3 separate regions of the Homo sapiens genome follow, and regions 2 and 3 are each linked to region 1. The links are contacts of gene promoters, found by promoter capture Hi-C in blood cells and fetal thymus (Javierre and others, 2016). All regions are on one chromosome and are shown on one strand. The core of a region is centred on a gene start or on the middle of the fragment in contact, and the rest is flanking DNA. Distances in the headings are between cores, read along the strand shown. Region 1 holds the start of CD200 (CD200 molecule). Region 2 has its middle 3.0 kb from the start of GTPBP8. Region 3 overlaps RMP64 (ribonuclease MRP subunit p64).

Region 1 (3,248 bases), core at 55-2,554:
CATTTGAGGCTAGGAATTTCAGGCCAGCCTGGGCAACACAAGACCCCGTGTCTGGAAAAAAAAAAAAAGCTGGACATAGTGGCTGCACAACTATCATTCTAGCTACTCTAGAGGCTGAGGTGAGAGGATCCCTTGAGCCCAGGAGTGAGTTATGATCGCACCACTGCATTCCAGCTTGGACAACAGAGCGAGACTTTGTCTGTAAAAAGAAGCAAAAACAAAACCCCAAAGCTTTGTCCCAGCTCCTTATGAGAGGGTGGTAGTAGTAAAACACAAAAGCCTTCAGGAGGTGAACACTTGATGATTTCTTTGTCCTTTTTTTTTTTTTTTTAAGAGCCAAGAACTCTGGAACAAGAAGAAGAAGACGAAGGAGGAGGAGGAGGGGGAGGGGGAGGAGGAGAAGGAGAAGGAGGAGAAGGAGAAGGAGAAGGAGACGGAGAAGGAGGAAGAGGAGGAGGAGGGCCGGGCGCAGTGGCTCACGCCTGTAATCCCAGCATTTTGGGAGGCCGAGGCGGGCGGATCACGAGGTCAAGAGACCGAGACCATCCTGGCTAACATGGTGAAACCCCGTCTCTACTAAAAATACAAAAAATTAGCCGGGCATGGTGGCGGGCGTCTGTAGTCCCAGCTACTCGGGAGGCTGAGGCAGGAGAATGGCGGGAACCCGGGAGGCGGAGCTTGTAGTGAGCCAAGATAGCGCCACTGCACTCCAGCCTGGACCACAGAGCGAGACTCCGTCTCAAGAAGAAGAAGAAGGAGAAGAAGGAGAAGGAGAAGGGAAAAAAGAATCCTCATCATTAATGCAAGTGGAAGGAAACTCTTCACCAAAGAATTGATCACATCATGAAAGGTGAAATCATTACGGAATTGCTTAAATATATAATTTGAATCTGGATTTAAAAATAATAAATGTAAGTTTTTTCTTTAAAAAAAAAAAAAAGTCCATTGGTTAAATTCAGCTTGAATCCTTTGCCACTACATCAAGAGCTAACAGGTCAACAACTGATCTCCACAACCTCCCACCTCATTTCCTTTCTCAGTCCAGGTAGCAGGAAAATGGAAAAAAAAAAATGATTTTTTTTTTCCAAACACTTTGTCAGTTTCCCCAGCGGTCACCTTTGAAAAGGGAAAAATGTCTGAAAATAGACAAAGCTGAATATAAACATCATTTAATTCCCCCCACACAGACAGCCTCCGCTCCTGTGAGGGCGTGGGGAAAACGGAGTGGGAGAAGGGGGCTAGCGAGGAGGAAGAGGCGGGAGGTGCGGCAGGGGCACAGGTGACGCTCCTCCCGCCTGCCTAGCAGAGCTCCAGGCGCACATCCGCAGTCAGCCACCTCGCGCGCGCCTCCAGGAGCAAGGATGGAGAGGCTGGTGAGCGGGGCCGGGGCTTGGGAAGGAGGGCGCAGGGCAGGCGATGTTGAGCCGGTGGCCCTGGGGCGGGCGGCGAGTGGAAGGCGCGGAGCTTCGGCTCTTGCCACAATCTGGTCCGGGGACTAGATCAGCGGTGTTGATGGCAGCGCTTTTCTCTAAGCGCTTTCTCTTGCTGAGAAACGGATTTTGCCTTCCAAAGGGTGGTTTACAGGCAGCTGCTGGCGTCCAGATTCTCCATTCCAATTGCCTGAAAAAAAGATGCACCAGGCCGGGGCTCCGGGGGCTCTTGATCCGCGCTGACGAAGCTGGCGCATCCTCCGGGCAGGCTCGGCTCGGCTCACTGGCTCCAGCTCCCAAAACTGGGGAGGCACAGCCTATTTTAAACTGCCCCCAAAAGGGAAAGAGAAATGCTGTATTGGTTCCATATTGGCACCAAAAGCTGCGGCGGAGATACAGATTTCCAGGCTCGCTTTCTCCGGGAGAGCTCCTGCGTCTCCTCTTTGTTATGCAGCCCCTTTCTCCCTCCTAGCCCTTGCCTGGGGGAAGCCATGAAGGATCAGTTAAAGCTGAAGCTACACTTGAGAGAGCTGAAATGCTCTGTGATCATAATGCTTTGAAGGGTTAACCCCGGGTATCTAGAGAAACAGACATTTTGTTTATTCGGAACCAGCTTACAAGACAAAAAACGGAGAAGGTTTTCATATATCCCATTGGTATATGAAATCCAAATACAATGGTATTGGTATAAGAATCCAAATACAGTGAATGCCTCAAGATAATTTTTTCATGTATGGTTTGTTGGCAAGACCACATAGCCAATGATTTCACTGTCTTTCTTAACAAAGGAGAATGGTGGTCTGTGAGCTACGGTCTACTGCAAGCTAGATGCTGTTAATCTTCTTTGTAACTATCCTTCTAAAAATGAATTATTACCTCGTTTTACACATAAACAGGCGGAAAGGCTGATATTTCCAAGTCCTTGTGACTACATGTGGGGTAATGTGGATTTGGACATAGAAACTTGCTGAGGAAGAGGCATGAATAGGGGCAATATAGCTACCAGGTGGGCAGCTGTCTGGTAAGACCCAGGTTTTTGTGAACCCTGGACTGCATGGCAAGGGTTATAAGTGGGCTTCTTTGTTTTCAGGACTGTAGTTCCCCCTATATGATTTGATCGATTAATTTTTTTAGCTACCTAACACGTATTGGCATTTACTATAACCTAGGCTCTATACTAAGTGCTTTAATTGCCTAATTCTCATAATAACTATGTGAGATAAGAGCAACATTTATTTAGTGCTTATTTCTACTGGCAGTATTCTAGGAGCTTTATATACTACTTCATTTAGTCTTTTTAACCATTAGATTGGTACTATTACTTTTCCGGAGTCTCAGAGAGGTAAAATGATTTCTTTTGCTCACAAATCTAGTATTTGTTTTAGCCCCGGTCACCTCCCTGTAAACATATAAATACTGTTGTTTTCAGATTGGTCGTATTTTCAGTTATTCTGCACAGACTCGAGGAAAAAAAAAACCTGTAAAATAAAAATACGTATCTATTTAAGAGTAAGGCTTTCCTTCTGATTTCCTTTGCCTCAATCACTGTGTTTTGTTTCTTAACATTGCTGGCTCCCAGTCCACAATATATGGTTTGGTATGTATCTGCTTTCTCTCTTGTCCTAAAACACAGATTTTCTCTATGAGAGCTTGTCCATTCTGCATTCTTCATCATGGCCTCTGGTAGAGCCTGGATTTCCACGTCAGAGAAGCCTAATGGTTTAAAAAATATCACATAGAATTGGAATGCCAGTATCTGTCTCCACAATTGCCTTAGCTGAAAATAAAACAAAATGTGTTGGGTGGGCACTGGCAATG
Region 2 (3,334 bases), core at 465-2,964, 650 kb after region 1:
TAAATTTAAATCATTCATTCAGATAGTAGTCATCACAATTTAAGTAATTTATGTGGAAGTTTCTCCCATATCATGCTCCTTCATATAAAGCCTCTTTCATCTTCCTTTCTCCCAATATTTTCTTCCTAATACAAGAGTTTGATATCCTAATTGGAATGTAACCAGGTCTTTCTCATAGTTTATCAGTACTCAGATAAATTCCTGGCATAGCAGACACCCAATAAATGTTCATTATTGTTGTTAAGACAAGCAGAAAAGTCAGGGTAAGAAAGGTCTAGTGGAAATCAGACACTGAGACCTAATCCATTCCCTCTCTCTATTTCTAGAAGTAAGTTTTGCTAGAGTCCCTGCTCTTGCTTCTGTCAGGACATTCAAACCATGTTTAACTTAGGATGGGAGTTATCTGATGTTCCCAGTGCCCCTACCTATCTAGGCCTACAAAGTTTACCTTCTTCATGTCTTAGATGGATTCCATAAGCTTGAAACCTATAGGACCTGGACATAAATTGGGATCACTCTGGACCTAATGGCCATTCACTATAGAGGCAGACATCGCAGTAAGAACAATTGAGAGGATCCTGTCCTACCTATCTTCCTTCTATTCTTAGCTGAGCATGACAGAGTATAACTATGACATTTAGGGCAGATGAATTTTAGCAATAAAAGCTGATTCTGGGGATGATGTATAAAGTAACGCCTGTCAAAGTCATATTAAATTTTTAAAACCTTGTTAACTTTGTGGTAAACTACCTCCTCGTTATCAAAACAGAAGGCACTTTTTCTCAGAAGGTTGGCCATAAATACATCCTAAGTCAAACTGGGAATAAGCCATGTGATTATCTGGGGTAAGCATTCCAGGGAGAAGTACAAGGACACAGAGGCAGGTGTGTGTATATGGCTTGCTTGAAAAACAGCAAGGAAGCCAGTGTGGCTGGAATGGAGTAGAAAAGGGGAAAAATAACAATAGATGAAGTCAGACAAGAGTGGAAGAAGAAAATGAAAGTTCATGTAGGGCTTTTTAGGTTAGTGCAAGAACTTTTTCTATGAGTGAGACAGGAAGCTCTTGGAGGTTTAGCTTATGTTTTAACAGGATCATGGTTGCTGCCACTGAAATGGGAAAAGTACTCTTGTCCCGCTCGAAGGGCATGTGACAAGGAATGGCTCGCTTCTTCAGGGCCCCACTGCTCAAACCTCTAGGGGAGCATACAGACAGGCAGGTTGTGGGGCTCCGACCCCACGGCAGCATCTAGGGGTGGATGTTTACAGCTCCTGAAGCCTCAGTGGGCATCTGCTACCGTGTGCGCTTTTAGTTTTGTCATCTATAGGCAGCTTGTGTTAACCAGCTAATTAGACCGTCTACCTTGTCACAAGGACAAAGAGTTTTCTATATCCTGGGTTCTTGCCTTGGTGTACTGGAAGAATCGGATCACACATGGGCTTGGAGAATGAGTGCATGGTTTTGACTGGAAGTAGCTCACAGCAGATAGGGGAGCCAGAAGGGAGATGGTTTTCCCCAGGAGTTCAGCCACTCAGCAGCCCTCCAACCGCCCCGGCCAAACTCTGCATCATTCTACTGGTCAATGGCCTGCTGGTGGGCAGCTTGCTCCCCTCGACGTCCTCTTGACATCCAGCAGCTCGTGTCTTCTTCCACCAAGGTGTTCCTCTCAAGGTCCAACCACTTGTGTGTCTGCCTGCTAGGTGTCGGGGTTTTTATAGGCACAGGATGGGGGTGTGGCAGACCTGGGTGGCTTTGGGAAATGCAACATTTGGGCACAAAGCCAGAAGTGCCTGTCCTCACCTAGGTCCGTGGGCACAGGCCGGGGGTGGAGCTCTAGCCAGGGACCTGCCCTTCTCCTCACAATTCCCTGCCCCACTTCCCTGCCCCACTTCCCTATCACCATGTTGCAAATATACTGAAGGGGGCAAAGGGCAAAGGTGGGTGATCAATTTGAAAGCTACTGCAATAATCTAGGTGGGAGATAATGGTGGCTTGTATCAGGGTGGTGGCAGTGGATGTGCTAAAAAGTATCCAATTCAGGATATGTTTTCAAGGTAAAGCCAAGGGGATTGCTAACAACTTGGACTTGGGGTAACAGAAAAAGGAGTCCAGAATTTTCTCCCAAGATTTTCAGCTAAGTCAATTGGAGGAATGGAGGTGCCATTGTCTCTTACAGATTAGGAGACAATTAAAGGATATTAGAAATTCTGTTTTGGACCTAGGAAATGGGAGGCGCATATTAGACAGCAAGATTTTCTAATCTACAGTCCTTCTTTTCCCTACTTGGACTAAAACCCTATTCTGAATCTTAGCCCTGACCTAGTCCTGATCTAGCAGGCTAGATCCTGACTCCCAATCTACACTTATTGGCTAAGCTCCTACTCCACACACAAAAAGACCACCTCGAACCAAGATGCTGCCAACAACAACAGATTCACAGTACTATTGCCAGAACCCAGAAAGTCCTGTCACAACATCCTATCCACCAGACTTGATTCCCTTCAATACTAATTTTGTTTTTATTATTTTTTTAGGGACAGTCTCGTTTTGTTGCCCAGGCTCAAGCGATCCTCCTGCCTTGGCCTCCCAAAGTGCTAGGATTACAGGTGTGAGCCTCTTTTCCTGGGCTTTGATAATTCCCTGTAGACCAGATGATTTCCACTGCAGCCCTACAATGGGGTTATTATAAACTAATTCCTCCCAATTCTAGCCCTCACCTGTCTCACTAGTAGGTCTCACTGCTATGTATGTTTCATATTTGAACTTCTGCAAATTATGAGTTTAATCATGTTGAGGGAAAACATAGTGTATTATTAACTCTAAATCATCCTGAAGTTTTATATGCTTTGTTTACACAGATGCTTTTAAAAGATGAAGTGAAAGAGAAAAAAATATATAAATTGTCAAGTGGTTTTACTAGTCATACTTCTTTCCAGTAGACCGTTTGATCCTTCAAGCTTTGCATGACAAGACAATTTGTTGCAAAAACTGTCCTGTCAAATAATTCTAAAATGATTTGTCCTATCAGGTGAAATCCAAAATGATTTAGAATTCAGAAACATGAATGATTATTAAATGAATACTATAATGTCTATTAATCCCGGAACACCTCTAAAACCTTTCTAAGAATCGCCAAAACTCTTTTATGCTCTTATTTCCAAACCTGGGGTTCCAAGGTTTGAAAACAAAATGGCATGTATAAAAGCACTTTCAAAGTATATTACATACACAGCGTCAGGCCTCTGAGCCCAAGCTAAGCCATCATATCCCCAGTGACCTGCACGTATACATCCAGAAGGCCTGAAGATCCACAGAAGGGAAAACAGCTTAACTGAT
Region 3 (3,374 bases), core at 315-2,814, 670 kb after region 1:
CAGTGATCCCCACAGTTACCCCCCGACCCAGGGCTTATATGCCATAGAGAAAAGGGGGTACATGAAGGAACATGTGAGACACTGAAGTCACCTCCTCAGGGAAAGGCAAGAATGCTGTTTACAACTTAGCCTATAACTTGCTTAAGGCCAGGATTTACAGTGTGTGTGTGTGTGTGTGTTCTTTTAATAGATAAAAGTAGAAATCTTAGAGGGCATTCCAGGAACTGGTTATCAGAAGTCAACATGGTAGATTAGCATCCAAGATGGAAGTTACTTTAGCCTCATACTGTGCCTGTGAATTTCTTTGAGGAGGGGATGGGGTGGCCCCACACCTCTTCCAGGTTGTACATACCCAAGTGCTAGGCAGTTCCTGTAGCTGGTGAGAAGCCCAGGGGCAGGAAGTGAGACATCCCCAGAGCAAGAGGCAAGGTTCAGCCCTGCTTGAAACTGGTTGCCACAGCAGTGACTTTAGTATGAAGGCCAAGAGGATTGGAAGTGACACACAGGAGGTCTCAAACACTGCTCTTATAAATGGCCTGTGTGTCCTAATGCCATCAGAAGTGATAAAGTTGGTACTAGGATGTGGGTAATCCCAGCACTTTGGGAGACCAAAGTGGGTGGATCCCTTGAGTCCAGGAGTTTGAGACCAGCCTAAGCAACATGGTGAAACCCTATCTCTACACAAAGTTTTTAAAAAATTAGCCAGGGCATGGTGGTGCCTATAGTGTCAGCTACTCAGGCGGCTGAGGTGGGAGAATAGCTTGAGCCCAGGAGGTGGAGGGTGCAGTGAACTGAGATCATACCACTGTGCTCCAGCCTGGGCAACAGCACAAGACTCTGTCTCAAAAAATAATAATAATAATAATTCACTACGATGACCCTGACAATAGTTTCTAATCTCATTTACTAGGTAAGTTACAGTTTGGTATACTTTAGATTGCATTTTTTTAAATGTTAAATATTTGGATTTATTTGGAAAAAGTAACTGATACAGAATACTGAATTCCTTATAAACATACAAATTGTCATTTTGTGGACACATGTGAAGCTTTTTTGCCATTTTCCCAGAATAGTAAAGGGCAGAAGATGGGAAAATGAGAGGAGATGAAGATACTCCAAAAGAACATGAATGAATTTGGAAACAAATGCTAGACTGGCAGCCCAGTCCATGCTATATTGTCCTTAACTCACTGAACCACCCTGGTTTTTCCAATGAAAGATAAGCTCCAAAGTTTATTTCAGCTATAAAAGTTTCATTCTTGAAAAAATTCCACTTCAAATCCAGAAACCTAAGCCTGAGGAAACTGACTAGCTCAGTGAAGCCACAAGTAGGAGAAGCAAGACTGAACCTTAAATCTCCTAATTCCCAGGGAGTTTTTTTCTGAATCAGCTAAATGAAGTATTAAAAGAGGCTACTTAGGGGACTGGGTGCATGAATATAGACAACTCTCAGCAAATAAGCCCTATGGTCCACAAAGCTATACACCAGTTCTCTTACTAATTTACCTTCTATTTCCCAATAGGTAAAGGATATTCATTGAACACAAGGACACTTAGAAGTTAATGGCCATTTCTAGACTTGTCTAGAATGAAATCTCCTTGGTATTGTCTGTATTTTAAGGCACTAAATGGATACTACCACTTGGTAGAAAGCCAAAAGGAATATGAAAACTGACTACAGATTAAGAATTAAACCAGTTTACTTAAGGCTTCAGGAGAGAAGCTAAAGTAGTGTTTATATAACTGGATTTGGGGGCCACCTGGATCAAAATCACTTGGGCTCCATGTTAAAAATGCAGGTTTCTGGCCCCTGTTTATCAGTCTCTGGGAAAGGGCTAATCTGCATCTTTTAGCAACCCACCAGGTGATTCTCAAAAAGTCTAAAGTTTGAGAACCACTGGTAGAGATAACTGAGAAAATGGAGAAGGCAGACAGGGAAAGAACAAAGCCAAATAAAGAATGGAAGGGAAATAACTTCTGTTATGATAGGGTGGCTGAGGAAAAGAAGGATGCGGTACATACTAAGGTACTACTTTCTTTTTCTTTAAATCTCTATGTAACAAAAGTTAAGGGCACTAGAGAAGCTTAATAACCTAATTCTAGTAAAGTTAGAACATTGGAAAGATACCTACCTCAAACTTCACATCATTATTTGAAAATACTCAAGATGTACTCCCCTCAGAGCAACAGTACGAGCAACATCCCCTATCAGATGACAGCATCAACACCAAATTATAAATGTTCTAGCCTCATTCCTGGGTCTACTTTGTATCTCCTAACCTCATTTTTTCATTTTACTTTCTCATCTACCTGTTATCCTATTATATTTCATATGTAACCATAAACCACCTTATTGCCTTTTTGTAAAAAGGTTTATTTGGAATCAATCACTGGTACCCAAATAAATAAAATTAAAACGTTTTGGAGAACTCCAAACTCACTTTAATATGAGATAAGCCAAGCAAATGAAGAGAAATAATGGTTGTAACCAGTCCCTGGTAATACAAGCAGTGGCAAACCTTGTTGATCAATTCCAACATATAAACAAGAAAACATAAATGTCAGGAGCTACAAACTTTAGTATTCAGAGGCGGACCTATGTATAATGGAGCCAATAAGACCAAATTGACCTTTCAGGTGTTTCCTTGCTATCTCCCACCCCCGCTCCTCATTTACCTCAAGACACAATGGTTTTTGCAAACGATTATTAAATTGCCTAGTAAGTCATAAAATTATTCAGTTTTTCAGAGACTTACTAGCCTCACTCAAGGAATTACATCTGCTTCTCAAGGGTAGGCTGTGGCAGATTTTTCATATTAACACCTGACATGTAGTTGAAGCCAAAAAAGAAATACTTGTTGATGAAATGACACAATGCTACTTTAAATGTAGACTGAACTGAAATGAACTCCTGTGCAATGCTGCACTAAAGCAGCTCCTCTGTGAGTCCAGGTGGTACTTCCAGATCTTAGCAGTTCTACTTAGAACACTGAACTAGCCTTGTTAATCACTTAAAAGTCTCACATATGAACGAACATCTAAACTCCCATTAAAGCAAAAATATCATCAATGTCATCTGTCTCCTTAATGGTTCCTGATGTACTGTTTTTATTTATTTGCATCACCGTCCACGAATCAGTTTCATTTTCATGGATGCCTCTAAGATTTTCATGAATCATTTTCTCCTTAGTTTGTATGACAGGCATTGAAACTCCACTATTCAAGAGCTGCTTACTGTTAGGGTAGAGATCAGTTCTATGCACAGTACAGTGTGAGAGTCTCCACTTAGCACTGGTATCTGTAGCACTCTTCCGAGTCCCTTGAGAGAACTGCTGAATTTCCCTTAAAAGAGTCGACTGCAACTTTCTCTGTGG

Evidence for each region. The method cuts DNA at HindIII sites, captures the fragments that hold promoters and counts their contacts. A CHiCAGO score of 5 or more calls a contact.
Region 2: a fragment that was not itself captured here is called in contact with the fragment with the promoter of CD200 in region 1 in 1 of 17 cell types (activated CD4 T cells); the score reaches 5.8 in activated CD4 T cells.
Region 3: a fragment that was not itself captured here is called in contact with the fragment with the promoter of CD200 in region 1 in 1 of 17 cell types (activated CD4 T cells); the score reaches 7.6 in activated CD4 T cells.

Annotation. Positions count from the first base shown.
Region 1 is chr3:112,331,852-112,335,099 of GRCh38, forward strand. It overlaps CD200 (CD200 molecule), which reads left to right and starts at 1,305. Exons shown (of 6, transcript NM_005944.7): 1 at 1,305-1,373. The coding sequence starts at 1,362. LOC105374042 (a long non-coding RNA gene) reads left to right here. Exons shown (of 5, transcript NR_147411.1): 5 at 335-903. RefSeq lists enhancers at 972-1,929, 1,930-2,886. The HindIII fragment of the contact is 4,002 bases long and covers 230-3,248 here.
Region 2 is chr3:112,986,332-112,989,665 of GRCh38, forward strand. No RefSeq gene overlaps it. Among named protein-coding and RNA genes, the nearest start is that of GTPBP8, 3.0 kb to the right of the region's middle. The HindIII fragment of the contact is 2,477 bases long and covers 477-2,953 here.
Region 3 is chr3:113,002,498-113,005,871 of GRCh38, forward strand. It overlaps RMP64 (ribonuclease MRP subunit p64), which reads right to left. Exons shown (of 9, transcript NM_015412.4): 9 at 1-3,374. The coding sequence ends at 3,039. Among named protein-coding and RNA genes, the nearest start is that of GTPBP8, 13 kb to the left of the region's middle. The HindIII fragment of the contact is 1,036 bases long and covers 1,047-2,082 here.